7 separate regions of the Homo sapiens genome follow, and all the other regions are linked to region 6. The links are contacts of gene promoters, found by promoter capture Hi-C in blood cells and fetal thymus (Javierre and others, 2016). All regions are on one chromosome and are shown on one strand. The core of a region is centred on a gene start or on the middle of the fragment in contact, and the rest is flanking DNA. Distances in the headings are between cores, read along the strand shown. Region 1 overlaps TEX41 (testis expressed 41). Region 2 overlaps TEX41 (testis expressed 41). Region 3 overlaps TEX41 (testis expressed 41). Region 4 overlaps TEX41 (testis expressed 41). Region 5 overlaps QTMAN (queuosine-tRNA mannosyltransferase). Region 6 holds the start of LINC01412 (long intergenic non-protein coding RNA 1412). Region 7 overlaps QTMAN (queuosine-tRNA mannosyltransferase).

The links. Contacts are between HindIII fragments. The CHiCAGO score rates a contact against its expected background, and 5 or more counts as called.
Region 1: a contact is called between a fragment that was not itself captured here and the fragment with the promoter of LINC01412 in region 6, in 1 of 17 cell types (neutrophils). The highest score is 5.4, in neutrophils.
Region 2: a contact is called between a fragment that was not itself captured here and the fragment with the promoter of LINC01412 in region 6, in 1 of 17 cell types (monocytes). The highest score is 5.4, in monocytes.
Region 3: a contact is called between a fragment that was not itself captured here and the fragment with the promoter of LINC01412 in region 6, in 1 of 17 cell types (neutrophils). The highest score is 7.8, in neutrophils.
Region 4: a fragment that was not itself captured here is called in contact with the fragment with the promoter of LINC01412 in region 6 in 1 of 17 cell types (neutrophils); the score reaches 6.6 in neutrophils.
Region 5: a contact is called between a fragment that was not itself captured here and the fragment with the promoter of LINC01412 in region 6, in 2 of 17 cell types (total CD8 T cells and activated CD4 T cells). The highest score is 5.6, in total CD8 T cells.
Region 7: a contact is called between a fragment that was not itself captured here and the fragment with the promoter of LINC01412 in region 6, in 4 of 17 cell types (total CD8 T cells, activated CD4 T cells, non-activated CD4 T cells and 1 more). The highest score is 8.6, in total CD8 T cells.

What each region holds. Positions count from the first base shown.
Region 1 is chr2:144,910,499-144,914,709 of GRCh38, reverse strand. The region is part of intron 3 of TEX41 (testis expressed 41); the gene reads right to left. Among named protein-coding and RNA genes, the nearest start is that of LINC01966, 31 kb to the right of the region's middle. The HindIII fragment of the contact is 3,006 bases long and covers 215-3,220 here.
Region 2 is chr2:144,889,700-144,893,943 of GRCh38, reverse strand. All of the region lies in intron 2 of TEX41 (testis expressed 41), which reads right to left. Among named protein-coding and RNA genes, the nearest start is that of LINC01966, 9.9 kb to the right of the region's middle. The HindIII fragment of the contact is 815 bases long and covers 2,102-2,916 here.
Region 3 is chr2:144,871,467-144,875,787 of GRCh38, reverse strand. All of the region lies in intron 2 of TEX41 (testis expressed 41), which reads right to left. Among named protein-coding and RNA genes, the nearest start is that of LINC01966, 8.3 kb to the left of the region's middle. The HindIII fragment of the contact is 1,385 bases long and covers 1,443-2,827 here.
Region 4 is chr2:145,022,589-145,026,619 of GRCh38, reverse strand. The region is part of intron 3 of TEX41 (testis expressed 41); the gene reads right to left. It overlaps LOC100505498 (a long non-coding RNA gene), which reads right to left. Exons shown (of 8, transcript XR_923410.3): 3 at 3,347-4,031. Among named protein-coding and RNA genes, the nearest start is that of LINC01966, 140 kb to the right of the region's middle. The HindIII fragment of the contact is 3,468 bases long and covers 124-3,591 here.
Region 5 is chr2:144,143,045-144,146,772 of GRCh38, reverse strand. It overlaps QTMAN (queuosine-tRNA mannosyltransferase), which reads left to right. Exons shown (of 12, transcript NM_001376312.2): 5 at 1,034-1,201. Among named protein-coding and RNA genes, the nearest start is that of QTMAN, 190 kb to the left of the region's middle. The HindIII fragment of the contact is 880 bases long and covers 1,825-2,704 here.
Region 6 is chr2:144,520,004-144,524,279 of GRCh38, reverse strand. It overlaps LINC01412 (long intergenic non-protein coding RNA 1412), which reads right to left and starts at 2,412. Exons shown (of 3, transcript NR_110570.1): 1 at 2,354-2,412. ZEB2-AS1 (ZEB2 antisense RNA 1) reads right to left here. Exons shown (of 4, transcript NR_040248.2): 2 at 4,170-4,276; 3 at 3,995-4,065; 4 at 3,381-3,526. ZEB2 (zinc finger E-box binding homeobox 2) reads left to right here and starts at 4,161. Exons shown (of 10, transcript NM_014795.4): 1 at 4,161-4,276. It overlaps LINC02993 (long intergenic non-protein coding RNA 2993), which reads left to right. Exons shown (of 2, transcript NR_136320.1): 2 at 452-736. The HindIII fragment of the contact is 4,746 bases long and covers 1-2,571 here.
Region 7 is chr2:144,158,796-144,163,084 of GRCh38, reverse strand. All of the region lies in intron 4 of QTMAN (queuosine-tRNA mannosyltransferase), which reads left to right. Among named protein-coding and RNA genes, the nearest start is that of QTMAN, 170 kb to the left of the region's middle. The HindIII fragment of the contact is 843 bases long and covers 1,869-2,711 here.

The DNA of each region.
Region 1 (4,211 bases), core at 468-2,967, 390 kb before region 6:
GGCCTTCAAAAGAACCACTTCCTGCATGTTCATTTGAAAGCATATTCCTGGACCACTTCCTGCACATCCATTTGAAAACTATTCCTCTGCCAGTCATTCCCACCTTCTCCCTTTCTACCACCTCTGTCCTGTCCTCTCAGAGTAAAAATATACTCAACCCCAGACTAATCCTTCTTGAATTACTGCCCTCTGCCCTTCCAAGTACTGCCAAGCTTTTTGAAAAATATTTTAGGTTATCTTTCCCTACTTCTTTGACATCTCTCACTCTCTTGTTATCTGTTCCTGCCCCACAAAAGTATTGTAACTAATTACATAAATGTCAATAAAAACCTATGAGTCATCAAATCCAAGGGCCTCTTTCAACGCTTACCAATGATAATGATGATGATGATAATAATAGCAATCATTCTGATAGCTGACTTTACTGAGCACAAACTATATGCCTGGCATTGGGCCAAGCATTTTGCATGTGTTAGCACATTCATTCTCACAACATTTTCCTTTAACAACAATTTTTTAACAGCAACTTAAAAGAAATAGCAGGTTCAAGAAATGATTTTCCTGTGGTTGTCCAGTTAGTAAGAACTGGCCACCTTGCAGCATTTTGTATATTTTCTATTTTCATTTCTTCCTAGATGTGTTCTTGCCTCTGCCTATCTTACTTGGTTTTGTTTCTAGCTCTAAGAGGTGCTGTCTCCTTCTCCTTCTGTTAATTCTCTTCCTCCATGCATTCTTCTCATGTAGTTTCATCCTATGACATTATTCACTCAAATCATTTAAATCTTCCCCTCCTAAGGATGAATTCCAGGTTTATATTTCTAGCCAAGATGTTCCTCCTGATTTGGGGCACACATGGAAATGTAGCTCTACCGCTTGTCCCTTCTGTCCATAGACCTCTGTCTTTCTCGTGCCCTTTCCATCTAGCCAATCTTGTGAAAACATCGAATTTCCTTTTACGCTATTTTAAAAATCGTTCTCCCTGTCCTTTCTGATTTCAGTTGTCCAAATGAAGAATCACATTACTTCTGCCTCATTAATTGCAATTCCTTTGCAATAAGGGAAAAATTAATAACACAGAAATTAGAGTTAGAAGGCCCCAAATTTGAACTATAGCTCAGGCACTTACCATGTGCTCCGGAGCAAATTACTTTATCTTCCTACACCTCACTTTTCTTTTCAGTAATGTGAAAAAATAATACAGTGCTATTGTGAAGATGAAATAAAATCATAGGTATGGTATAGTAACACCATAATGCCAAACCAGGAACTCAATCCAATTTATAATAGCATAAAAAAAAACTACAAATAAAATACCTTGAAACATATTTAACCAAGGAGGCGAAAGATCTCTACAACGAGAACTACAAAACACTGATAATAAAAACCACTGATGACACAAACAAATGGAAAAACATCTCATGCTCATGGATTGGAAGAATCAATATTGTTTAAATGGCCATACTGCCCAAAGCAATCTACAGGTTCGATGCAATTCCTATCAGAATACCAAGAACATTTTTCACAGAATTAGAAAAAACTGTCCTTATATTTATATGGAACCAAAAAAGAGCCCAGATAGCAAAAGTAATCCTAAACAAAAAGAACAAAGCTGGCGGCATCACATTTCCTGACTTCAAATTATGTTACAAGGCTACAGTAACCAAAACAGCATGGTACTGGTATATAAATAAATACATAGATCAATGGAACAGAATAGAGAACCCAGAAATAAAGCCACATACTGACAAGCCACTGATCTTTGACAAAGTCAACAAAAACATAAAGTGCAGAAAGGGGAATTCCCCTATAAATAGGGGAATATTACCTATTCAATAAATGGTGCTGGGAAAATTAAACAGCCATATGCAAAAGAATAAAACCAGACCCATGTCTCTCACCATATACAAAAATTAACTCAAGGTATATTAAAGATTTAAACTTGAGACCTGAAACTATAAAAATCCTAGAAGAAAACCTAGAAAAATTTCTTCTGGACATTGGCCCAGGCAAATAGTTTATAACTAAGTCCTCAAAAGCAAATGCAACAAAAATTAAAACTAACAAATGGGACTTGAACTAAAATACTTCTGCATAGCAAAAGAAATAATCAACAGGGTAAACAGACAACCCACAGAATGGGAGAAAATATTTGCCAACTATGCATCGAACAAAAGGCTAATATCTGGAATCTACAAGAAACTCAACAAGAAAAAAAGACAAATAACCTTATTAAAAAGTGGACAAAGGACATGAACAGACATTTTTCAAAAGAACACACACAAGTGATCAAGAAACATGAAAAAAATGCTTAACATCACCAAGCATTAGAGAAATGCAAATAAAACCACAATGAGATACTATCTCATTGGCTACTACTAAAAAAGTCCAAAACCAACAGATGTTGGAGAGGATGTGGAGAAAAGGAAACACGTATACACCATTGATGGAAATGTAATTTGTACAACCTCTATGGAAAACAGTATGGAGGTTTCTCAAAGAACTAAAAGTAGAGCTACCATGTGACCCAGCAGTCCAACTACTGGGTATGTACCCAAAGGAAAAGAAATCACTATATGAAAAAGACATCTGTACCTGTATGATTATTGCAGCACTATTCACAGTAGCAAAGTCATGGAATCAACCTAAGTGTCCATAAACAGATGATTGGATTAAAAATGTGTTATATATACATATATATCACATGCATATAACACACACACACACACATAAATACTACTCATTTAAAAAAATGAAATCATGTTTTTTGCAGCAGTGGATGGAACTAAAGGCCATTATCCTAAGTGAAATAACTCAAAAACAGAAAGTCAAGTACTGCATATTCTCACTTAGAAACAATGGGAACACATGGGCATACAGAGTGGATGAATAGACACTGGAGACTCCAAAAGGTGGGAGGGTAGAAGGGGAGTGAGGGTTGAAAAAGTATCCATTAGGTAAGACATTGACTGTTTGGGCAATGGGTACATGAAAAGTCCAGACTTCACCACTACGTGATATATCCAAGCAATAAAATGGTACTTGTACCCCCAAAATCTACAAAAAAAGTTTAAATAACACAGTAATTATTCAGCCAAAAAGTGATTATTATATTATTAAGCTGAATTTTTGACCCTAGATTCTTCCCCAACCATTTGCTATAAAGCAGTCCCTGTTCAAAAACTTTTCATGACTTCTCTTAAGGACTCAGTTTCCTCAAGCTTCCATGAGTTCATCTCAAGTTTTTTCCAGATCTACTTTCCCATTTTACCCTCTCTCATTTCTCCAGTCTACCAGCCACAAGCCAATACCCCTGCAGTTCCTCTGACACAACTCCTTACCCACACCTTGCCTTTTCTTAAATAGCACTCTCGTTATTAGTTATTTTAATAAACTTTTATTCTAATATTCACCAATCAAAATTTGATCCATCTTGTAAAGATGGAGATAAAATTTCCATCAGAATTACTGTGGTACCACCCAGTTAAAATTCATTTCTCTGTCTTCTGCATCCACATATCAGCCCAAAGTTCTGTTAATGTAGTTAGTGAAATCTACCCTTTGTCGGTGTTACTACTTAGTCATGTGTCTGTCTCTCCTCAGACAGAAGGACACAGACGTTGGTCCTCTTCCTGTCCTCCCACTTCACCTACCCAGTGCTTGTTACAGAGTAAGTGCTCAATAAATATTAGATAAATTGAAATGAATTAAATATTTTCAGACTTAATATCCTGAATAGGTAATGACGTGGAGGAAATTTCAATTTTCTTAATATCAGAATCTCCTTACAAGAAGAGCCCAATCTTAGTGGAGGGAATACTTTGCTGAGCTAATTGGGATGAGGCGTCCATAAGAGAATTGTGAGACCCACAAGGGGGCATATTTGGAAAAGCAACAGATAATCTATAAACTGCTTTCTAAGGCGGGTAGGTTCTTTTCATTGCAGGCTTTGTGGGTGGCAGGCAAGCAAACTTGAAGAAAGAGATGAATTTCTCACGAGAAAGGAGATTTGAGAGAAACGGAGGTTCAATGCTGAAAGGAGACAGGGAAGCTATCTTTCTGGGAAGAACATACATGTCTACTGTGCATTTTTTTTCACACGCTGCCTGATGCTGTCAGATAAAAATCATCTTTCCAACCCCCCCACCCACCATGAAATCATCAGTAAAATTCCATATTTCATCCCAAAGCACTGTAGAATATAACTTAGTTTG
Region 2 (4,244 bases), core at 1,260-3,759, 370 kb before region 6:
CACTCAAAAACTTTGTCAGTGACTCATTAAAAAAAGCTAGATACCTAATAAAAATCATAGCATAGTTTTACATAACGATAAATGGTTAAGAATTGCATAAATGCTACAGAACGTGTCACCTTACCTTGAAAAAGACCTGAAGTGTGCTTGTGGAAGTGAGCCTCAGCAAGATAAAAGCTCGTAAGTTAATGTACAGGGGTGGATGGAGGGCTACATGAAATTATACAGCAAGCTGTAATACCAGATGTGGATAGGTGTGGCTCATAACACATACCGTGAACAGGGTAGCTGGTAGATGTTTGAAGTATGTGCACGTGTGCATTTTGTATATTCCTAAGTAGTGCAGTTCTACTGAGTGCAGTTTTGTATGTTCATCTTGCATTTCTCCAGACACAATTGTACATAAACAAGTGCAAAATTTATGTTATGCAAATTGCTCCCTGATAGTCACATTGGAACAAATTCATATTTTCAATGTGAGCATCACAGCAAGGCTGTCTCTATCATCTTCCAACACAATGAAATAGAAATACAATATAAATCTCAGGCTGATCAATACAGAATCATCCTGGTACAGTTTGCATGATTCTTACACCCTTAAAAAAATCTGTTTTATCTAAATTTAAATTTCTTAAGAGCAACGACTATTCAGTAGCATACCTGGAAGCCCTTTCTCCAACCGCATTTAATATAATAGCATTCAACACATGTTGTTTGGTGAAAATGCCAGAGGAGCCATTGCAATATACCACTCTGATAATATAGTCTTTGACTGCTAAGGTAGCAGAGAGTAAAGTGTAGAACAGTATAAAACAAAGACATTGTAAGGCCATTGTGGCTTTAAATGGAGTTTGACCCTGGATACTAAAAACTGATATGCACACATATGCGTCTAATAAATTATACCACAGCCATGCATCTAGTAAAAAATAGGTGATTCCCATGGTCCTACATGATATTGAAATTTGCTAAATCTTAATTTTGAGATTCTGTTGAAAGTTGATTAACGTAGCTCAATATTGTGGCTTCTCTGCTCGCTGTAAGTTTAATGGAATCACTGTTCAAAACTGTACCCAGTATACTGTTTTGAAACCTGCTCTTCCTTCTATGTTGCTTACTTTTTGTTAATTATGTCATTCTCCACTGTTATTCTAAATATAGAAAGCATTCACTTGCTCCTCACCCTGACCAGGCCAACAAAGAGATAGGTGCTATCTAATTGAGACAAAATCAATTTTACCTACCCACATACAAAAGAAATGTCAGTTAGGGACACTATTTAGAGATCTGAAATTAAAAAACAATAACAATAGAAAGTACTTTTGAAATCAATTTATATAAGCATTATTTAAATAGATTATTAAGCCTACAAGTGTAGACAAGATTCAAATGTGATCACAGAAGGTGAGTAAAATTGCTGATTTTTTTGTTTTCTTATATTAAAAGAGTTTTTTTCCAGTTATATGTGACATTCAGTCTTTGAGGATTAGAGAAAAGACTGTACACATCTTTGTGCCACCAAGGACCTAGCAAATTCTCTTTGGTAGATGTCAAAGGAATGGGTTTTGCTAACAGAATTGAATAGAAACTCATAGAATAAATGAATATATATTTCCCTATTTTTCTGTTTTTTATGAAAAGAGAGGATCTGATGTCAGTACTTCGACATGGTAGAATTTCTTTACCCAGCACCAGTTATTTTCACCTCACCACTCACCACTGTGTATTAATTACTCTTGCAATTTCTGCCATATCTGCATAGCATCTGCCTTGTAATTTAGCTAATATTTTTCTTTAACTTTTGGTTCTTGAACAAATATATCTTTAAGGTAAATGTTATGTCACTACGAAAATGGAAAACCTTATAAAAGAAGTGACTGTGGCCAGGAACAGGGGCTCATGCCTATAATCCCAGAACTTTGGGAGGCCAAGGTGGGCGGATCACCTGAGGTCAGGAGTTTGAGACCAGTCGGGCCAGCATGGAGAAAACCTGTCTTTACTAAAAATACAAAAATTAGCTGGGTGTGGTGGCATGTGCCTGTAGTCCCAGCTACTCAGGAGGCTGAGACAGGAGAATCACTTGATCCTGGGAGGTGAAGCTTGCAGTGAGCCGAGATCACGCCACTGCACTCCAGCCTGGGCGACAGAGAGAGATTCTGTCTCCACAACAACAACAACAAAAAGTAACTGTAAAATTTATCTCAGTGAAAATCAAACACTTATTGAATTCTGTCTGGTGCCTAAGGAAGGCTCAGAGCCTGAGTCCTGTTCTCTCATTCTTTTTTTTTTTTTTTTTAAAGGAATGGTTAGAAGGCAGCTAAATATCCACAGTTATAGACATGCTAACACCAAATAGAGAATTCTTCCTTTCATTAATCGGAAAGAGTGAAAGACAACTGAAGAGACATTAACTTTCTGCCCAAGTGATACATTATCATTTAAAGTAATATTTATATCACAAAATCACCTCATATTCAATGTTGGTACACATGCAAAATTTGGGAGAACATTGGTAAAGTGGAAAAATATACTACTCTAGGCAGCAGATATTGATTCTGGAAAAGATTTTGTCAACCTCATTTGCAACCACAGTCAAGTGCTGCAATTTCTCTGTGCCTTAAATAACTATTTGACAATGGGGAATGTGGATTTTGTATCAAACAGGGTGATCTAAGTTAGGCTGTGGTTACAATCACCAAATCTTACTGACTGTATTTGTGTTTGCTGACTGTATTTGTAGTTTAAACCAAAAATTTTATTTCTCCTTCCCTCTAGATGTTCTATGCAGGTCAGCTGGGATCATGTTCCTGCTTTGTCATCATCCTCACTCCAAGATTCAAGATAACAGAGCTACCACTGCCTGGAATATCACTGGTCACAATGACACAGGAAAACCACCCACTGCTTCTTAAAGCTTTTGCCTGGTAATAACACACGATCATGTTTAATTGGCTAAAGCATGTCATATGTCCACACCTGGCTTCAAGTCAGTATAGAAGTGCAATTCTGCTATAAGCCCAGAAGGTGGGAGTACCAAAATATTTGTGAGTTATAGTAACTTCCATCAACTTAATATTCTCTAAAATCCTTTTAATTTATTAAATTCTATGATTATAACAAAATAGTACTTTACATTTAATGTATGAGTTTTTTTTAATTTGTCAGGTTATTTACTTTGGAAAATTTTATTATATGAAAAAGCTATTACACAAGTGTATCATATTCTTCAAAGATTCATTATTAAACACACTAAAAATTTTAGGAGATTAGAACTTGATATAAATATAAACTATCCAATCAGGATGGTTAAAAGTAGAAAAAGAATTTCTTGGTTTTGTCTTTGAGTGTTACTTAAATAACACAAAAATATGTGACCTAAATAATTTCAATGGTAATAGGAATTGCACAGAATAAAAGAAAATAAATGTTTAGAAACTTGCAAATGTTAGGAAAGTTTTATAATCATTAAATTGCAAAGGTCTGATGTTAGTGGAAAAACTTAGTTTGATCTCTGTTAGTGTGCCCTAGTTCTAAATGCACAGGCTCTCATGGCATCCACGGACTTGCCATGCCTGGTTAGATTTGTCTTCTTCAGCTACCACTCAGTTACTAACAGAACCAGGCTCAGCACCTCCTCCCCTGCATGGCTTGGCCATCACATGTAAAAGTGATCTGGCTTATTTAAACAGAATATTTTTTACTGTTCCCTTTGTTATTACATATCGTAGCAAAGAGCTTTGAGCATTTTACCACTGTCTACATATCAAAATAGGTCATAGAACCTTCACAGGAACATCAAATCAGAAGATCAATAACATCACCATAGCTTGTACCAAACATTTTGAAGTGTGACCATTCTGCCTTTTAGTCTGCTGCCAATATATTCTGTCTTCCATTAGTCTCTTGCGTTCTTTGAGTAGTGATCTCTCTCCAACTTGACTAAAAACTTCTTTGGTGCAAAGCCAAGCTGATGCTTCTTTAGGGTCAACCATAATACCTAATACAATGTTGAGCACATAGTAAGTCTCCTGAAACTTTTGTTGTTGTGGTCGACACCTATTTAGAACAGAAGGAGGATAGACGGCTTTTATTTATTCATTTAAAAAGACAGTTTTGAGTAGCCACAATATAGCGTGGACTGTATGTATAAAACAGAAACAAACTACAAAACCCAGGGCAGTGGTCCTCAATGAGGGTCAATTTCACCTCCCAGGGGACATTTAGCAAAGTCTAAACACAGTTTT
Region 3 (4,321 bases), core at 886-3,385, 350 kb before region 6:
TCCCAGTATTTTGGAAATCTCACTGTTTTATATCACTTCATGCTCTCCATGACAAGGGGAACATTTAGCTGTCCTTAATGTCTTCTAATTAAATACACAAAGCATTCTTAAAGTCTTCTTTCTCCAAATACAGATATACTTTAATATAACAGATTTTTCCAAATGCATTTTTCTATTGAACTGAGAAGCTTTCAGAAACTGTCCCCACTGAACATAATGACTATTTAAGGAAACAAGCTATTTATGTGGAAATATTAAGAGGGATGATTTTGATAACCCACACTCAAGGCCAAAATAAGGATCATTGGGACTTTTACTGAAGAAGTTAATGGAGGCCAGGCCATTGGCAAATGACCTTGAAATCCCTCGATGTAGCCTCAAATTGGCTTCAGCACAAGCTTATTATTAATGCAGACAGCTAGTTTATACCATGAAAAGCACATGGTATCTCTCTCTCCAAAACCATAGCTGTCACTCAGGCACCCGCAGATTCAAATAAAAGCCATCAATGTGACAACAGTTTTACACTTTTACATATTTTTACTAAATATCACAAGTTTAGTAATCAGTATTTTATGTTGCCTAAGAAAATTATAATTCATCTGCTCAATGGCAGCTTTACATATGTATATTTAAAAATTACTATATAAAAGTATTAAAACATATTACAACACTTGATTTAGATTTTAAATCGTATTTGTCTCTCTGACTATGCCCCAGAGTAATGCCCCAGACACACATATCAAAAACCTTTTATTTTTAGGTACCTCAATATGTTAAAACTATTTTCTCTAATGTTTTTTAAAATTGACATATTTCAGAGCTTGCACACACACACACACACACACACACACACACACACATACATGCAGACACACTCACTCTACCCAGTCAGAAAGGAACTGTTTGTTCAGTTTGCAGATATGAAATCATTAGGGACTGGATTTCACTACGGGAAATTTGAGTATCATGTACTGTTAACGCAAAATAAAGAAATAAAGCCTGGGAAGTTAGAAGATTATTTTTTTTGGAAATGCATGTTTAGAACTTAAGAAAGAAAAAAAAATAAAAACATCTTCTAATGGTAAAGCATTAACAAATACTTTTTCATATGAATAAAATCTGTAATCAGTTAGATAAGAGCAATGTGCCTTTTTTTGGCATTTAATCAAACAATGAAATCATATACACATTTCCTGACACAAAAGACAAATGATGTAATAATCTGAAGGAGTTTCTCTATCTCCTTGGAACTTTGCATACTTGACTTGTTTTCCATATTTTGTGACTTTAAATGGTGGGAAAATTATATTAAAATGCTTGTAGCAGTTCCTCTAAACTAGCATCCTTTTTGTTTTATTGTATTTAATATAAAAGCAGCAATTATTTGATTTCAAAGTTATGAAAATATGTACCTTATGAGAAAACAAGCAATTTAAGCTTTAATTGGTGTCATTTTTCACAGAACTGGCAAGATTCTTGCATCCCTGGCACGTTGTTTTTCTATAAAACTGCAGAGCTGCCTTCCATGAATGTTTTACGAACGCAAAAGTTGTTATATGAAGGTATATGCATAGATGCCTGGAAATATAAGATTTCTGGTGGGAGTTATTTACAAAAGATGTATTTCATTTGTTACTGTGTGTGTAACAACTCCTATTATTCTCAATGTTTCTCTCTTCTCAATAAGACTGTTCTTAGCTCATGTCTATGAAACATTGGGACTTATGTCTAAAGTAAAATAAAAGCGGATGCTTTGATGAGGGAAAAATAGAACACTTGAGAAAAGCATAAAAAGAAATTACAATTTTGACTAAAACAAAACCCTATTATAATATGTTGAAAGGTTAATTCTGGTTTTAATCAGAAGAAAGATAATATAGACTATGTACTGAGAGGCTTGCCTTACATAAATTACATAGAGGCACCACAAGACTATTTTCTGAAGTGTTGCCTTACCATGAATACCTTTATTTATTCTGTTCATATTATATATTTCCCACATTTTCCAAAATAGTGTTATGTTCTGAAGGACAAATGTTTTATATATGCTTTGAGAGATTTCACCATCGTCTCATTTCTAAGGACTTTAGTGATTTCCACACCTGGGGAGGTATTTCTTTGTTGTTGGTGGGTTTTTTTTAATGAAAATTCCCAGAGCCACTGCCAAGGTTTCGTATTCAAAAGATCAGAATAAAGGTAGAGAATCTGTGTTTTTTTTTAAATGTCTAGTTGGTTTCTATAAGCAGCCAGATTTGAGGGAAACTGCAGATTAGTGGACTTTATGCAGAAAGTTCCTGTTGGGGGACTGGACATTAGGATACATAAGTATTCTTTATATTTCATTTACATCTTTGTCTTTTTTTAATGTTGGCTATTTTTATTAATAACTATGGCTAATACATACTCAATGTTACTGTATGCCAGGCACTAAGCTAACCACCTTGTACGCTTGTATCCCAACAATCCTACAAAACAGAAGAAAATGTATTCTTTCCTCTTCAGAGATGAAGACATTTTTTGTTAGGGAGTAATGTACAATGGTCAGACAGCAAGTGATGAACAAGTAAGAACTAGAATCTAGGTCTGTGTGACTCTAAAGGTCACTTTTCTAACCACTGCTCTATATAGAAGATTCAAACAGAAAGGGAGCTGCAGATGTTTTGAAAACCTTTTCATGTTGGCTACCCAAATAAAGTATTAACACCACTAGGAATTATGTGATCTGAACTATTGATATCCCCCTCATTAGTATCATTATTGGTTTGATTCAATTTTGATTCAAAATGAACCACCCGACACTGATTGAATGGCATCAGAACAAGCTTTTCCATTGCTGCCATTTTCCACAAGCATCAATAATAAAACGTTTAAATAGTAGCTCAGTGAGAACAAAAAAAATCTTTATGTTCAATCTTTCAACTAATAATCCAAGACTATATTAAAACTCTACCAAGATATGACCAAAGATACAGTTGGGGAAGTTTAAAAGATTTTTTTTTCTGGGAAACAAACAAATGCACTTCCAAATGGGTATCAATGAATTGTGCATCTTTCAGATATGTCCTTTGATCCTGAGAGTTTTCCATGATCCTTCCAATTTGGGTTTTGGATCCCGTAGCACTTTGAGATCATGCCATTCAGAGTACTAATCTGTGAGTTGCTGAGTGGCAAGGCTTCTGCCATTTTTCTCTCTATCCCCAGATATAAGCATATCGTTCTGAGCATTACCTTAGGGAACTGGAGACATTATTTAGGCCCAGAAGAGCTATGGAAGTACCTGAAGACAGAAGTGAGGAAAGAAAGCCAGTGAAGTAATATGGGCTCCGGTTAAGGAAGGTGACATATGATACAGGTGTAGCAAAAGGTCAAAATCACAGGAGTGAGTAGTTGAGCAGAAGCTGATAAGTGTGTGCTTGAGAGGAGAAGACCGTGGACTAAGGCAGAGACATTTATCGAGTGTTTTCCTAGCACTGTGCTATGTACAGGATAAGAAGTGTGTTTTTATTTCCTGTTATAAGTAAACAACTATGAACATTTGTCATTTTGACTATTTATTTGTTCAGGGTGTTTTATGAGTACCTGCTGTATACTGGGCCCTGTCTTACACTATTGTAGAAACACACACAATCCTAACTCCTGTGAGGCTCAGTCTAGTAGGTGATAAATAACAAGTAGAAGAACTGGAGGAAACAAATATTTGATCACACATTATGATGACTGCTGTGAGCACGTGTCTTGAGTCCCCCACATCATAATGCCATCCACTGTTTCCTTTTGGAGTCACGTATTTTCAGTTCAGAGATGAGATTAAATACTTTGTAAAGAACACCCGGTATCAGTTCACAAAGTTCAAAAGATAACTTCTAAAATAATGTGCATCACTTTTCCTAATAAGTAAACCCAATAAGACTTCATATATTCACTTGCTTCTGAGTGATTCAGGTTGAAGGGGACAAGAGATACCCTCTGGGTGCAGGAGTGAGCTGGTCTGGCCAATATGAAGAGGATCAGGGACTTGACTCTTGCCTTCTAGAAGTTCAGGCATCTCAGCAATGTCAGAAAGAGGAGAGGGTATTGTGCCTGTCAGGACTGGCCATTTTAAGAAACCCGTATTAGAATGTGATGTCATAAGTAAAGTCAAGTCTTATGGCTTAATTTTCTCAGTGGAGATTAATGGGAATGGAGAGATGATTTGTTCTGAAATTAGGGGTTTCAGGTGGGAGGCAAGGACAAAGTGTGTCACTTCCACCATTGCCCCAGTCCCGATGCTCACCTTTGGCACCAGCACAGTCCTGCAATTACCATCCTAGATTCACCA
Region 4 (4,031 bases), core at 608-3,107, 500 kb before region 6:
CAGAAATGACAATACTTCCATAGAGATTATAAATAAAGAGAGACCACACTGGTGAATTTACTAGCACGTGGAAATTTTTCAAATGTCAGGTTCCATCATAACCACGTGAATCGAATACAAGCTTCATTGTATTTATGTGAGCGGTATCAAGAGATGTTTTGAAAGAGAATGTAGCCAATATGCTACATGATGTCAATACTAATGTAAATGATATTGATGAATATCAGAAATACTTACAACAGTAAATAGTTAAATATGAAATATCATGAAGGTAATTCATAGGTACGTTAATGTGTTTCACTTTGCCTATCATGTCCCACCCACTTCTTAGCCACTCTAACCAATGAATTTTATACAAGTGGCTTTTGCCCTTTTTAGTGCATTCATTGCCAGCACGGGTGGTAGGGAAGGTGTGAGCAAAATGTCAAGGCTCTTACTGAAAGAAGGTACACCTAGACCAGGGTCTAGAATCTAGCCCTTGACACCAGCATTCACTAGATTTAGGAACTAATTTACTTTTTCTTATCTAAGCCACTACTGATTGTAACACACTTCCCAAGTTCAGAAATGTTAAAAGGTGAAAAGAAAATGTACATCTTATACAACGGACTTTGGGGACTCGTGACAAAGGGTGGGAGGTGGGTGAGAAATAAAACACTACTTGGGTACAGTGTACACTGCTTGGGTGATGGGTGCACCAAAATCTCAGAAATCACCACTAGAGAACTTACGCATATAACCAAACACCACCTTCTCCCTAAAATCCTATTGGAATAAAAAATAAATTTTTAAAAAAGAAAATGTGCGTCTTAGAATCAATAATATGTAGAAGCCCTTAAAGTTAAAAAAAATAGGCAGGAAGACTCCTTAGGTTTTTAAAGGTATTTATCAAAGAAACTCAAAACTGGCAAAGAGCTAGGAATTGCCAACCCCTGAGTCAGTCCCCTAGTTACTGGCTCCTATGAGGATGACATGAGCTGCTAAAGCCACTTTGTCATGGCACAAGGACCTTTGTCCCTCTCAGATAAGGCTATGACACAATGGACAAGAGACATCTTTCAGAAAGCAGATCTTAGGGCAGCCAGACTGGGGGACCATGGAAAGCTCTCTACTACCGGAAGAGAGCAGTCCTGCTACTCCAGTCCAAAAGAATATGATATATGCCAAAAACTCCAGACCATTGTAAGTTGTTTCCCTTTCTCTCTTTTTCTAAATGGTAGTTTTAATAAATTTATCCTCTCCTTCCTGCTCTATCATCTATGGAGGGGATACTAGAAAATACCATTAAGCACTCAGTGAGTGAACCATGGAATTTCCACATCAGAATCAAACTCAAGGCAAATATATACCCCTCAAAGATCCTGAAGATACACCTGAGAAGCAGTAACAGGGCAAGATTTAGCTTTATTTCTCCTTTGGAAGGGGTAAATATGTTTATAGGAGACAGGAGTGTCACATTATTTTAGGCAAGTGCATTACAAAATTATTCCCATATAAAATGTAAATTACTTCAACCACTGTGGAAGACAGTATGGTGATTCCTCAAGGATCTAGAATGTGAAATACCATTTGACCCAGCAATCCCATTACTGGGTATATACCCAAAGGATTATAAATCATTCTACTATAAAGACACATGCACAGATATATTTATTGCAGCACTATTTACAATCGCAAAGACGTGGAACCAACCCAAATGCCCATCAATGATAGATTGAATGAAGAAAATGTGGTACATATACTCCATGGAATACCATGCAGCGATAAAAATGAATGAGATCATGTCCTTTGCAGGGACATGGATGAAGCTGGAAGCCATTATCCTCAGTAATCTAACACAGAAATAGAAAATCAAAAACTGCATATTCTCACTCATAAGTGGGAGTTGAACATTGAGAACACATGGACACAGGGAAGGGAACATCACACACCAGGGGGATGGGGGATGAGGGGAGGGAACTTAGAGGACGGGTCAATAGGTGCAGCAAACCACCATGGCACACGTATACCTACGTAACAAACCTGCATGTTCTGCACATGTATCCCATTTTTTACAAGAAATAAAGAAAAATAGTAATAAAGATATTCACTGGGAAAAAAAAATTATTCCCATATAAAGAATAGTACATGTAGAAAAAAATAGGGCACAGTAGTAACCTGTTAATGTATATCCATTACAGATATTCAGCATCATATTTGCCATCATGATATTTGCCATCATGTGGAGACAGCTTGTTTAAAATGAATCCATCATACAGGAAAGTAAGTCCTGGAAAAGGGAGGGAGAGAGATTAAAAATATGTGTGTGTGTGTGTGTGTGTGTGTGTGTGTGTGTGTGTGTGTGTCTGTGTGAGAGAGAGAGAGAGAGGAAAACGAGCAAGGGGAGGAGAGATGTGGCAAGGGAAGAAAAGAGTCCACAGGACAGAATTCCTGGAAACATAAGAAAATATAAAAGAGAGATTGAGTTGACTTTTTATCTCCGTCAATTGAAAGAGACCTCATTAATACAGGATTAATTGGCTTTTAATTCAAATTTTTCAATAGCTTTGCAAAGGTAGGGTTGAATAAGAAAGCTGTCGTTGATTTACTGTCATTAACTCAGTGAGAGTAGAAAGAGAAAGCTGATTTCATATTTCACCTCCACAGAGAATATGAATCTAAATTTACCAGAACAGATAGCCAGGAAACATGCTGCTGATGAGGTCAATAACAAACAGCAATAATAGCTAATAATTATTGAATCTGTACTATGTGCCAACAGTTAATAATATATTTACATTCCCTCAACAACTAAATGAAGTACTTACTCCATCTTGCAGAAGACTTACTCCATCTTACAGATGAGAAAACTGAGGCTTAGGGAAGATCAATCATTTGCCCAAGGTTTCACCACCAGCTGGGACTGGAACCTAGCCTCTTTGCCATCAATCATCCATGCCTGACCACCATGCTCAAATCAGGACAAGTATAGCACTTCCGAAGTACCAATAAAACTTTTGAATTTATCTTTATCTCCTGCTCAAGTCCAGAATGAGAGTAAAAAGCATTTTTCCTCTGCCAGCAATACCACTAACATTGCTATATTGACATTATTCAGCAAACTGCTTTCACTTAGGAAGCGTGGTGAAAACTCACTGCCCAAATACTCGAGACAGTTTTCCAACAAGCCCAAATTCAACTAGAAATAGACCCAAAAAATTCAAAAGTAGTAGAAAAGGTGGAATTTATTATTTTTAAGTCTACCTTAAGATTTATTTCAAGACCTGACTGACCATACTTCCATGTTAGACATTAGGACAGAACCTAATTTGCCTGGCTGTTACTCCAGCGTTGAGCTCAAACTCACCCTTCTCCAGTCCTTGCGGTGGGACACCATTTCAGAAAGCTGAGTGTTCAAAGGAATGTTACTTCTGCAAACAGCATTCTTAATGTCAAAGGATAAAGCATCACAGTTGTGGGGAAAGTTATGCATTTACCAGGAAAATATTCATCAGCCTACCCAGTTGGTCATTCACTTCCCCTCTGGCTGTTTGGACATATTTGAGTACGTATTAAAATACCCACGAGATCTCCAATCTTAATTATAAAGCTTGAGAAAAAACATCCAGTGAAAGCTATTTTCAGGTATAAAATTAGAAACTCCTTTTAACTCCTTTGCCTCAAGATTTACATAACTGTGAGGGCAAAGGAATCACATGATAAAAATACCAGATACTGCAGATTAGAAACAAAAAGCAAACCAGCCACATGCCAGTTTCTTGCAATGAGTTCCAGAAGAGACCAAAATCATCGTGAATGAGAAAAGATGTAGTGTGGAGAGAAAATCACCCAGGATAATCAAGGGATATAATTCCAACTCTATTTCCCCCCACAGAACTGTTTTGTAAACATCAATGAGCTAGAATCAAATGTGGATCCCATGATCAAGCTGGCAGAAGTCAAACTCCCTACCTGGATGCTTGCAAATTGTAAATCACAACTTTACAAGGATTTAACTTTTCCCTTTCCAAAATAATCAAATGTTGTGGTGA
Region 5 (3,728 bases), core at 1,015-3,514, 380 kb after region 6:
AGGTGGCATTCTATCAAAATTGTGTCATCTAAATGTCCTCAGCTGCTCAAGTCCTGTACTTTGTCCCTCTTTTGTGTCCGTATGTAATAGGCACCTTATTAGGGAAACATTTCCAGGTTGTCCCAGACAATTAGTATTGCTTTCTGTTTGTTTCTCTAATGTTTTGTGTATGTCTCTATTACAGGCAGCATTTATCCTGCTGAGCTGTCTTGTTCATCTTTTCTGTTCTTCCTGGTTAGACCCTGGCACATAGTAGGCATTTAGTAAATGTATGTGGAATGAGAGAGTAAATTGACACTTTTTTCATTTATAAACATGGATAGGCAAGCTTTCAGTTTCCCTTTTTCCCTTAAAAATGAGGAATCAGCCTTTCATAAAATTTTTATATTTGTGCTTTTTAAGGGATTTTACAGATGATGCATCTGGTACCATTAGCAGTCCAGTAATGGAGAAGAAAAGATGTTTTTAAAAATACAAGTATTGTAAGATACTTTACAAGTGAGGGGAGGGTAAGAAAACATGCCAAGAGAAAAAGACCATACTAGATAAGTCTATTGCATAAATCAAAAGAGTTTATGTCATAACATGAACATGTGCCATTCCTGCTCATACATTGAATTTCAGTAGTTGGTTGCATAAAGAAGGAAAGTGTAATGAAACTGGCAAGCAAAGTATTCCGCAGTCAGTCTTATCTTTGTTCCATTTGTCCTTCAGATAGAGCTTTTCTTGCCTTTTTCAATAAAATCCATCCGGCTTTTTTTTTTTTTTTTTTTTTTTTTTTTTTTTTTTAACATTTCTCAGTAACTGCACTGAGAAGACCAGTGAGATTCGGGGACTTTATAGTTCTAAGCAGCTGCTTTTTAAGAGATCAAAACTTAGAATGCTGCTACATGGTATTAAGCCTCAACTATTGATGTGTCCCTATAGGGGATGTGTTTTTCTTGGGGTGGGAAGAGGAAAGAGGAGAGAAGAGCAAAGCATGATCCCTTCAAACATACTTGGGACAGTAAACCCCAATTTTCTTGTTTCCTAGGACCCTCTTTGCAAGTTCAGTGCTTAACCTGACCGAACTGGCTGCCCTTCGGCCTGACCTTGGGAAACTGAAAAAGATTCTGTATTTTCACGAGAACCAGTTGATATATCCTGTCAAGAAATGTCAGGAGAGGGATTTCCAATATGGATACAACCAAATTCTTTCATGGTAGGTATGGATTGTATCATTATATTTGGCCCTTTGCTACCTTTTTCTTTGTAGGTGGTTACGTTTTAAATCTGGAGACCTACTATTGTACACCTTTTTTTAAAACACCATAAGGTAGGTGCAAATATTTAAACAATTCTTCCTTCTGCAGTATATGTAAGATCACAACTAATCATTTTATAAAAATACATATATGTAACAATCTAATTATATGTTGAGCTAATTATCTATTTTTCACAACATTCAAAATAGAATTAAAAGGTTGGCAGGGACCTTCACCCCTTGATTTCATGATCTATTGCTTAAGGCATTTAGAAAGTGCAGTTAGTCAACTCTTACTTATTAATCACGATCACTGTATTCAGCTAAAATCAAAATAGAGTTTTACAGAGAAGTAAAAATTAAAGCATAATGGAGCAACTTGGGGTTTTGTCTCCCCCGCCTTTTTTTTTTTTTTTTTTTTAAATTGTAAGACAGAGAAGACTATGGACAATGAATCCTTAGGTAGTGTTTTCTTTTTTCCTTCGTTGAGTCTTCTGAAATGGCACAGCCTTAAAATACCATGACATTTTAAAGGTGATGGTCCTCTATTGTTACTTCGACAAAGTGTATCTCCTGAAGCTTAGTTAATGAAAGAAGTTAATAACAATTCTGAAATGGCTTTGCTATTGGATCCTATTCACATAACTGCAACAGTCAAACGGAATCTGTTTGTCAGTGATTTTGTACATTTTATTTATCTTTATTAACAGCTATTAGCAACTGGGTTTGATGATGTATTTGAACAGACCCGCAATTCTTGCAAGAATGTTTCATAGTTTAGTTGACATAGAAAAATGGCTATATAGTAATAATTCTGTGTTGTGTGCATTTTGTGAATGTTTTCCTACAATCATTTTTACAAGCTGCTTCAATTGTGAAGTAGCAGTGCTATCAAAATAGAGTGCAACTGCTTCACGTCAAATGTCTCATAAAAAAAGCAGCCGTTTTAAAATTTCATAATAAAATTAAAATACTTTATATTGAAACAGAGAAGGAAAATATGTTTTAAAAATGAAAATAAAATCATTTTGTGCTTTATCAATATGGAAAACATTTGTAATATTCTTTTGATTTCTTGAATTAGCATCATTCTTTTCCTCAGATAGTGTGTTTATTACCCCTGAGAAATCATTGGGAAAAAAACTAAGTCTATTTTTTCCTTTATGGGTGGCTTTAAAGTTAATGGAAGTTACATCCACTCATATCAGGGAGGAAATGTACCAAAAAGGATATTTCTGTAAACTATCTTGGATCTTTAATTTAGCATAGACTGGATTTTTAAGAATGTAAGTCATTGGGTCACATGCCGTTTGAGGGAAGCTATCTAAAAACAATTCAGCTCTCGATTCCTCCTCACTTTCATAAAACATTGTTTTTGCTGATAGGGAATGAGACTATAAAAGTTTTGTACATGATTTTTCAGCATTGCTTTTCTCAAGAGGGTAAACTTATAGACAAGCTTGGAGAGAGAGAAGTGTACTTCATCATCAGTTGGCTTCTTAATGGGGAAAAAATGGTTCACAGTTGTCCAGAGGAAAAATAAGAGTGTCAAAAGGCAGTCCTGTTCAGATTCTCTTTGAAAAGTATGACTCCTGCTTCCTCAAATGTTTCTTTAGTTTTCTTGCTGACTTCTGCTTTTTTTGGCACTGTCAGATTTCTTTCTGGACTGTGTGGCAGTTAAGGACTTTAAAGATGACTGACATAAGCACTCACCTTAAACAGTGATTTCACTAACCCTCTGACTTATGAACACATGTCACAACTATATATTATGACCTGTAGGTCACTATTACAATATGTGACATATGGTGAAAACAAGACTAGCTGTAAAACATCCTTCAACTTTTGGTATATTATTATATTAGCTTCCTTATTGCTTAGTGTTGTGTCAGCACTTCTGTGACATTCCTTTGTATTGTTCGTGTTGTAATCACCCACACCCCCCAAATTTGCACTAGGTAGCAACTAATAAACAATACTTGTATAGAAAATCAGTTTTTTTCAAGGGATGCACGGAAGTAGCAGGCCAACACTCTTTTTGTTCATTTTTTATTCTGCTAGATATTAACATTGTAATAGTAAATTTGGCTGTCTCAGCAAATATGACTTAAACTAAACTGACGTTTGGCTACGGCATTCCTATTCTATAAGCTCTACTTATTCTGTGGTGTTCTGCAGTCCTGTGGACATAACATGTCTTCTTTCCAGTAGTATTGATCTATCATTTTTAGGGTGGAATAAAACCAATTGCTTTATCCCTTTAATCTTGTATACAGATGTTCCTCAACTTACGATAGGATTACAGCCTGGTAAACCCATTATTGTGAGTTGAGAATATGATAAGTTGAAATGCATTTAATACAACTAACCTATCAGACATCATAGCTTAGCCTAACCTACCTTCAACATATTCAGAATACTTACATTAGCCTACAGTTGGGCAAAATCATCTGGCAGCACAGGCCACTGTAGAGTATTGGTTGTT
Region 6 (4,276 bases), core at 1,163-3,662:
CGCTCCTCCGCCTGTGCAGCGGGGCCCTTCCTGGAGATCAAATGCAGGGACCGAAGCTGGCGGCGGGGGTTGGGGCGGGGTGTGTGGGGGGGGGAGTGGCAGAGCGCGCGGAAAATTGGGGACAACAACCAGACCTGTTTAGCATCAATAAATTAAGATGCTCATTTGGGTCCTGAAGTTTGCTGGTTCCTGTCAGTGGAGACGTTGGCAAAAGCCCTGAAGCCGAGATTCAGCCTTTACTTCAAAAAAATAAAATAAAATCAACCCCTCAGCTGGCCGCCCTGCTGGGGCCAGGTGACGTGCGAGATTCCACAGCCTGCGGGTCTCGCAGCAGGGATGTTAGGGACGGTCTGAGCTTCTCTGGTCCTGTTTTGGTTTTGTTTGAAAGGGCTTCTCAGAGAGATGCTCCTGATTTTTTTTTTTTTTAATAGACTTTCCCCTCCTATCCTAGGCTCAACTCCGAATGGATTGGATTGCGAGTCTGCACGTGAGAAAACCGTTTGGCTTGGCTTGGACCCCTGCCGCCCCCCACCTCCTCCACACACACCCAGTCCAGGGGTCCCCTTTATCACCCTTTGCTTGCAACTCCAAAAGAAGTTGCCCACCTCCTGAGTCACAACACAAGGTCGAATAATTCCTCTAGATGAAAGATCAGTTTCATTTCAAAACGAGAATAGGTTCCTTTTTTTATTTTCTCCACATGGTACAAAATAAACAGAATTTGCTTTAAAAAAAATCATTAGCTGTGGCCAAATTCGAATTCCTTCTACAGCCTGTGTGTTCAAGGGCAGAAACATTGTATCTCTTCGGGCATCTGGGCCGCCAAGCTGAGCGGGGGGAGGGGGGAGCGGCTGTGAAAGTTGAGGAAATTGACAGACTGAGAGGTGAATGGGGGGACAGGCACCAGGTCCTGGCTGGAGGGAATTGGAAAACAAAAGTGCATCCTTCTCACCCTGCCTGGGTGGAGGGAATCCTGAGGGAGGTAGTTTGTTTTGCCCATGGAAACCCCAAAGAATTATTTTTCCCCCTTCAATGTTGATTGCAATATTATTTCACATTTCCGTGTATCTGTTGTTTTAATCTCTTTCGTCTGCGCTAATCTCGAAGTGGATTATTAATGGGGAAGACAGAGAAGGAGAGATTCATTTGCAGGACTTATTTTGCTGTGTGAGGAGCCGAAAGCCAGCAGCCCCCAGTCCTCTCTCGACTTTTCTCTGCGTCCTGTGCTCCTGCATCCTCCTGATCCCACGATCCCCATTGTCCCCGAACTGGCCCTCGGACTGAGGGAGTGTTCGGAACAAATTTATATTCCGGCTTCCTCCCGACCCCATCACCTCTGCCACGTTGGGAACTCTCTCGGCCAAATGCCTGGGGAGGGGCGTGCCAGTCAGGAACCAGGGGCAAGGCAACCTAGCCGCAGCGCTCACCCCTCGCGGAGACCCTTCCCGTGCCACCATCCAAATATCTACCTTCATGGGAACCTGGAAGACTGCTTTTTCACCCCAAATCAAATACTGGCTAGTCGGAACTCCCAGTGATAAATGTTGGGGACTGCCTCCTGCCACTTGAGCAATTCCTGAGTCCAGGGTAATCAGATGATTAGGTGTTTTTAATGGAAATACTTAGGGTTTTTTTTTTTTTTTTTAAGTCAGATCCTAAGTAACCTGACATTTAATATACATAATAAAGACAAGTGTTTTGTTAGCTATTCGATTGGATCCTTTGACCTGAGGTTATGCTTGTGTGTGTGTCTGGTCTGTAAGCCTCCAATGGCTACCTGGGTGCCTGAAGAGGAGTCTTGCCTGTAATAACTCTATGCAAAGGGCTCCTTCTTCCTTAGGAGTGGTGGAAGGGTGGCTGTAAAGCAAACGTCTAGAGAAAGCTGGATTCCAATCTTTTAAATTAAAAAAGAGGAAAAAAAGGAAGAGGAAGAAAAATGGACATGAACAGTGGTGCTAAATCTCAGAAGAGGAACTTGATAAGTCACACATATATTTAGTATAGATATATAATAATGAAAGAAATGTAAAATATAAAATTAAGAATGTGCCTGACCCATGTTGAAAATCTTTGATTTTATTTATTAATAATTTTTAAGCTGAAGATCCTGAATGCCTTTCTTCTATAGACACTTTATCTGTGATGGGGTGGGGGGAGAGAGTTAATTTATCCAGCAGCTATTTTCATTATAATAAATACTTAAATTAGGAAAGAGGTGAGTAACCAACTGTGAAAATCTACTTTCTTGCATCCTAGAACAAGATCTAGCTGTGGTCGTGCTAGGTAGCTATTAACCACCCCCACCCCACTCCCCCGCCCCGCAAAAAAAAATACAAAATACAAAGACGTATACCTCTGGGAGTGTGGATGTGGCAACCCATGTGGTGGCTTGTCCCTCCTTTGAGTGCAATTGCCAGTGACTCTTGCATTCAAAGTCTTGCTTTAGGCACACATTCAAAGCACAGTTCAAAGCAGTTTATCTTAATATAGTGTTGGATCAGGGTATTATTTGTTTCAGATTTCATCAGACTGGAAACAGGAGGGTGTAACATATTTAACAATATTAAAGCTTAAAAATTGGTGTGAGGCAGCTCTCTGGTCCTCTTAACACCTCCACCTTTACCTTTCCGAAGAATCCTAAATGCTGTGAGGCTAGAAGTTTATTTGTGCTCTGAGGTTCTCAAGCACTTTCACTCTTTAGGAAAAAAAAAAAAGTCTCACAGTTATTTAAGAAATTGAGCCTGAACCATCCGAGGATAGGAGATTTCTTCCTTTTCCGATAAATGCCTGTGCTCAGCATCCTCAAATTTGGCTGTCTTTATTTACTTCTATATTAGTTCCAATTATGTGCAGTGTAAACCAGCTTTTTGATTAACAAAACAGCAGAGCATTGGTTAAGAACACTTAAACTTCAAAAAAATTCCCCTGGGAAGTGGGCTCTGAATTGGTTAATAATGTGCAGTACTTGCTAAATTGCTGACTTCCAGATGTGGAAAATATCTTTCTTGTTTAGGACCTATGTAACCTGATTGGATTACGACAGAAGCGTCACGTTGGAAGCTTTTGAGTGATTATTTAATTAACCATACAGTAGAAAGCTGTATTCTCCAGGAAATCCCTTCCATATTTGCATAACCAATCCCTTCAGAGCAAAGGTGGAGTCTTTTCTTTTTAATCTTACTTTAATTGTAATATCAAAAAATATATACTCCAAAACTTAGACCCCATGCCGTTTAATATCATGCTCTCCCTTCCCTGCTAAGTTTCTCTATGGCCTTTCTCGTTTCTCCTCCTGCCTCCCTACACACTCTCCCTTACTTTGTAGTGAGGTCTCCCCGAGGTGTAGAGAGATTCAGAGATCGGCCAACCGAGTGTTCTATTTTAATTTACTTAGAGACCCTTTATTAAAATGCCAAACTACTTTTTAATATTGGGATCCAGTCCAGAAATTCATCATGCACACACCCTAATACACATGCCCTAAGATGCAGCTCCCATGCAGCATTTTTTTTTCTGGCTCTGGTACCTAAAAAGAAAAAAATAACAATAAGAGAAAGGGCAGAGAACTTTGTTCCAGAAGCTGTACTGAGATACCTACACAATTTGATGTGCATCTCAAATCTGGTCATTAGAGATATCTGTATAAGAAGAGACTATCTGGATTGAGGACCCGGGATCTTTCCCTTTAACTTTCGCCCCTTGGAGTTCTCCAGTTCTGTGAATGGTGTGCACCGTTTTCCGCCCTGTACTCTGTAGGATTTAGTGATGAGGATAATGATGCCAAAGGCTTGACGGGCGGGGAGGGGGGGGTGGAGGGGGGGAGAAGGGAGGGAGGGGGGAGGGAGGCGAAGGCGAAAGGGAGGGAGAGGAGGAAGGGAGGGAGGTGGAATTTCATTTCTTCCACTAAAGCGTTTGCGGAGACTTCAAGGTATAATCTATCCCAGATCCTTTCCCAGAGAGAAACTTGGCGATCACGTTTTCACATGATGCTCACGCTCAGGGCGCTTCAATTATCCCTCCCCACAAAGATAGGTGGCGCGTGTTTCAGGGTCTCTCGTCTCTCTCCTACAGAAAAGAAAAAGAAAAAAATGTCATTAGAAGAGGCGTAACACGTCAGTCCGTCCCCAGGTTTGTGTTTCCTGGAGTGGCCGAAAGAGATCAGTTCTAACCTGCTCTGCAGGAATAACGGTCCTGCCTCCCGACACTCTTGGCGAGGTTTTTGTACAGTTTGCTCCGGGAGCTGTTTCTTCGCTTCCACCTTTTTCTCCCCCACACT
Region 7 (4,289 bases), core at 1,041-3,540, 360 kb after region 6:
TGGGTAAAAATACAATAAAATTTTGTCTTTTGGATAAATCCACATTTTCATATTCCGGGTTTGTTTTGTAGTCTCTACCAAGTACACATATTATAATTCAGAAACAGTTTTGTGTTATTCTATTTACTGCTGTCTCTTCACCCTCTTTTTGTTTCTGTGCCTTTGGCTTTCCCTAGCTGGGCACAGTCAGGTCCACTGATGCCCCCTATCTGCAAACTCAGTCTTGCACAGTACCTGAGCCATTCTTACCTGAGTCAGCTGATAGACACATCCTTAGCTTCAGATGCACACCTGCTCGTTGATGTGACTTATAGTTTTATCCATCCAAGACCTGGAATTCGTCCGCACAGCTGTTTGGGCTCCTACGTTCTTCCAGCTGACATTCACCCCTAGGTCTCTCTTGTTGCCAGTTGCCATGAGATCAGCCCTAGGCCTTTACTTTGCTGCTCTTTCCCTTATCTCTCCTCACCTTTCAACTGCCACCTTTAGCTAACTTGGCCAGATTTTTCTCTCTTTGTTTTTTTCCCCTGATATATTCTGCTTTATTCTATAGGCACCTTCTGGGGCTTTGATACTTCTTCCTTAGTTCCTGCCAGTTCTGTCCGCTGCATAATCCCAGTCAAGCTTGACATCTGTACAAGATTTTCCAGAGTCACTTCCTAAATTCTGAGCAAGACTTCTCCTTGAAATCTTTACTCTTCTGCTTTATTCATTGAATTTAACCAGCATCTTGCCCAAGTTATGCTCTTTTGACCTAGGTTTTTTGATTGGCCCACTGTCTTTTTTGATGACAGGTGTTGTAGGTGGTACTGTTTCCTTTGAAGTATATTCGTTCCTGGAACCAGGTCTCAGCCTCATTTGCAAAGGCCTGAAAACACCCAGGACAGTGTCAGCATGGTTTCTCCTGAAGGCAAATTACCGTGTAAAAATCAGGAGAGCAAAATAAAAATTTTAATGCATGTAGTTACTCTTCTAAATTCACTCACTGATTTTTGTTAGGTCTATTCAGATCCTTTTTACAGCTGAACCATTTATCACTTGAAGCAAAAGGAGCAACTGTCTATGCCACGTCCAAATGTCTTTGTACTATGAAAACTTGAGATGCAAGGCATGTTGTGTCTAGGTTTAACATCACTGTAACACATGAAATAAGAGTCCATCAATGCAAACTAAATTAAAACTGTAGTTGCATAAATAGAATCTATGGTAAGCTCTCTTTGCCTTACCCCATTTATTCTACTTATTGATGAATTTTCATAACTTACTCCTTGAATAAATTATCCAAGAATTAGCCTGTGATTTTCTTTACATATTTCTTCATATTTGTACACAGGTATTGCCATAATAAAATCTTATAGTGATTACTGTTTTTTACTACTTACTTGGGCTGGATTTTAAAATAATGATTACTGTTTTTACTCTCCATTTGGACTGGATTTTTCATTTACAATTTATATTAAAATGGAACAACATTGTCAAGTCTACTGTTAGAAAGGACTCAATCATTCTTTCGTTTTTTTCAACTGTAGGGACATTCATATCCTTTCCTCCCTAGTCATACATGTAACTGGTCCTATCAGTAACATGATTAGATCACAAAACTTCTTTCTGGTAAGATATGAAATTTGGGCATTCACATTTAATTTTAACCTTCTGACATTATGCTGTTCTTTTCCTCTCTGGCTTCTATGTGGAATAATGTGGCATGGCCAGTTTCTTACAAGATGTAAGTGGGTGGGGAGGTTCTGCAACAGGGTACTGGAACAAGACAGCCACAGGGAATTGACTCGATTAAATATATCATTTCCATTGTATACAGTTGTGATGTCCAAGTGATCTGATGATATGAGTCATAATCATAGGAAGCTTTTGGTCATAAATAAATACAAGAAAGAAGTAATGAAGGATCCCAGCTAGTAGAACATGACAATGGAGTGTCTGTTTAACCATCAAGTGTAGACAGGCTGGTACTCGATTTCAGTATGATCTCTTCAGACCACATGTTACCTTTTCTTTCGTGCCATACTCAGATGTCCCAAATTATTATCACTCTTATGACTGACTAACATAGAGGATTTCCAGCATTTTCTTGGGTTGCGTGGAGTTGTCTCAGAGATTTCTATATATTAATATATACAAAGGACATGTTGTCAAAGGAAGTGAAAAAAGGTTGAGTTAGGTGAATTTCCAGACCATCTATTCCTGCTTTACTCAAAGGTGTTTTTGTGTATTTTACGTACCAGTTGTGTGTAAGAATTCATTTGAGAAAGTGGCTGCCTTAAATTAGTCTGAGAGCTATTTCCTCTGTCCATCACAGATAGAAAGACACGATTTGGTGCTGTCTCCCCTCTAACCGTTGATGTGACAGCTATTCATTGAATACCTGTTGACTGCCAGGCCCTGTAATGCTTTGTTAGGCATCTTGATCATCTACTGAGGTATTGAATGATCACTGCGTTACAGTCTTAAGTTTTCCCTCTGGTTCTGCGCATAAGTTACCATGTTTTCTTTCCACATTTTCTTGATAATCTTACAACTTCAAAGTGACTTCTATACCAAAAGTTCCAAAATCTGTCTCCAGTCTCACTTTGCCATGTAATACTCATGTGAGATTTGATAAGTCATCCTTTCTGAGCCTCAGTTTTCTTATTTGTACAACTGATGTAATTACCAACACTAGAAGGATAAAAAGACAGTGAAAGGTACAAGCTTATATAAGTATAAAGGATAATATTATTTTTATTGCTGTAATCAGTAACTTTAGGACCATATCTCAACATTTTTGTAGGAAATGCTTGTTTGTACAGACCCTGACACCTTAAACTTAAGATTTACTAAATAGTGTTCAGTCACTCTTTTTTCTTGCATGAGACACTGTCCTTGATTTTATATTTTTATGATGGCATGATCTTTCCGATAGTCATTACATTTCAAAATCTTGAAGGTACATTTTTAGTGCCTTCTCCTCCTTTAGAGGAGAAATGTTACTACATTTCTTCAGACTTTCTTTGCAACTTGTCTGTATTGCTCTAATCATCTCATAACTGGTCCCTTTTTCTTTAGTCTTTACGTGTACTGTTATGGAATTTTTATTTTTTTGTTTTTGTTTTGTTATTTTTGCCTTTTGTTTCTCTACTCCTAAAAAAATATAGCCTGAAACTTCAGCATCCCCGCACTGTGTACACATTGGCTCACTTGTAAGCCTTGCATTCAAGGTCCTCTACAATATATACTTAATCTGCATTTGCAGCTTTTCTTATTACAACTTTTTCATGAGCCAACCCCTTCAGCCAACCTTTTTGTTTTCAAATTGAGTATTGACCACTTTTATTTCTGTAAGCTCTCTGTCTGGAATGTCTTCTCTTTGTTGAAAAACTACAGATCCAGTCTGGCCTATTGAAAATGCCACCTCCATGAAAGTATTTGTAATATTCCTCAAACACATGTGATTATGGCTCTTCTCTTCTGAACTCACTATCTCACTGTTCTTTACTTCATCTCAGCTATTCCATGCTTGTATAATACCTAAGTAACGGCATAAAATACACTTAACTATTTCTTTAGTTGAACTTGATCACTGTGTATCTGTTTCTTTCCATTTGTGAACCATATTTGAATCAGCCTCGGCCCCATGATGAGAAAGTGGTTGGTGACGGTAATGCAGTTTCATCTTACAGTTTATGTCCTACCATGTTGCAAGTACAAGAAGGAAAAGTGGCTCCCAACCAGCTTTACACTATTGAAAATATGGGGGACCGTTTTAACACTATTTTTTTTCTTGATAACATGCAGGAATATGTGTTGAAAGAATTATTTCAGGCATTTTTATTTATATCCATGTTAAAATATAGTTAAATGAAAGTATCTTCCAATCAGAAACTAAAATTTTATAGAACAAGTAAATTTACTTACTCCTAGAAAGATGTCTCACCTGTTCTTGTCTTGATTAATCTTCAAAGGGATTATTTTTTATGATCTGCAGTTTGTGCATCCCTATTTTAAGGCATTAAGCTCTGTATCAAATCCTTTTTGTATTATTGCAAATCAACCAATCTTTTGCTACTTTAATGTTGTCAGCCATTCACTCTTTATTGTTATTTTAAATGCCAGAAAGTAAAATGCAAAAACCCCACCCTATATTAATGTAATTTTATGGTTAAGATTTTACATTCAAAAAAGTCCAGAAATTCAAAGTTATAGTTCCCAGAAGAATCCTAATTCAGTCACATTGCATAAACTGATATTAAGGCTGAAATGTATCATCATTACAGTAATGCACAATACCTCTA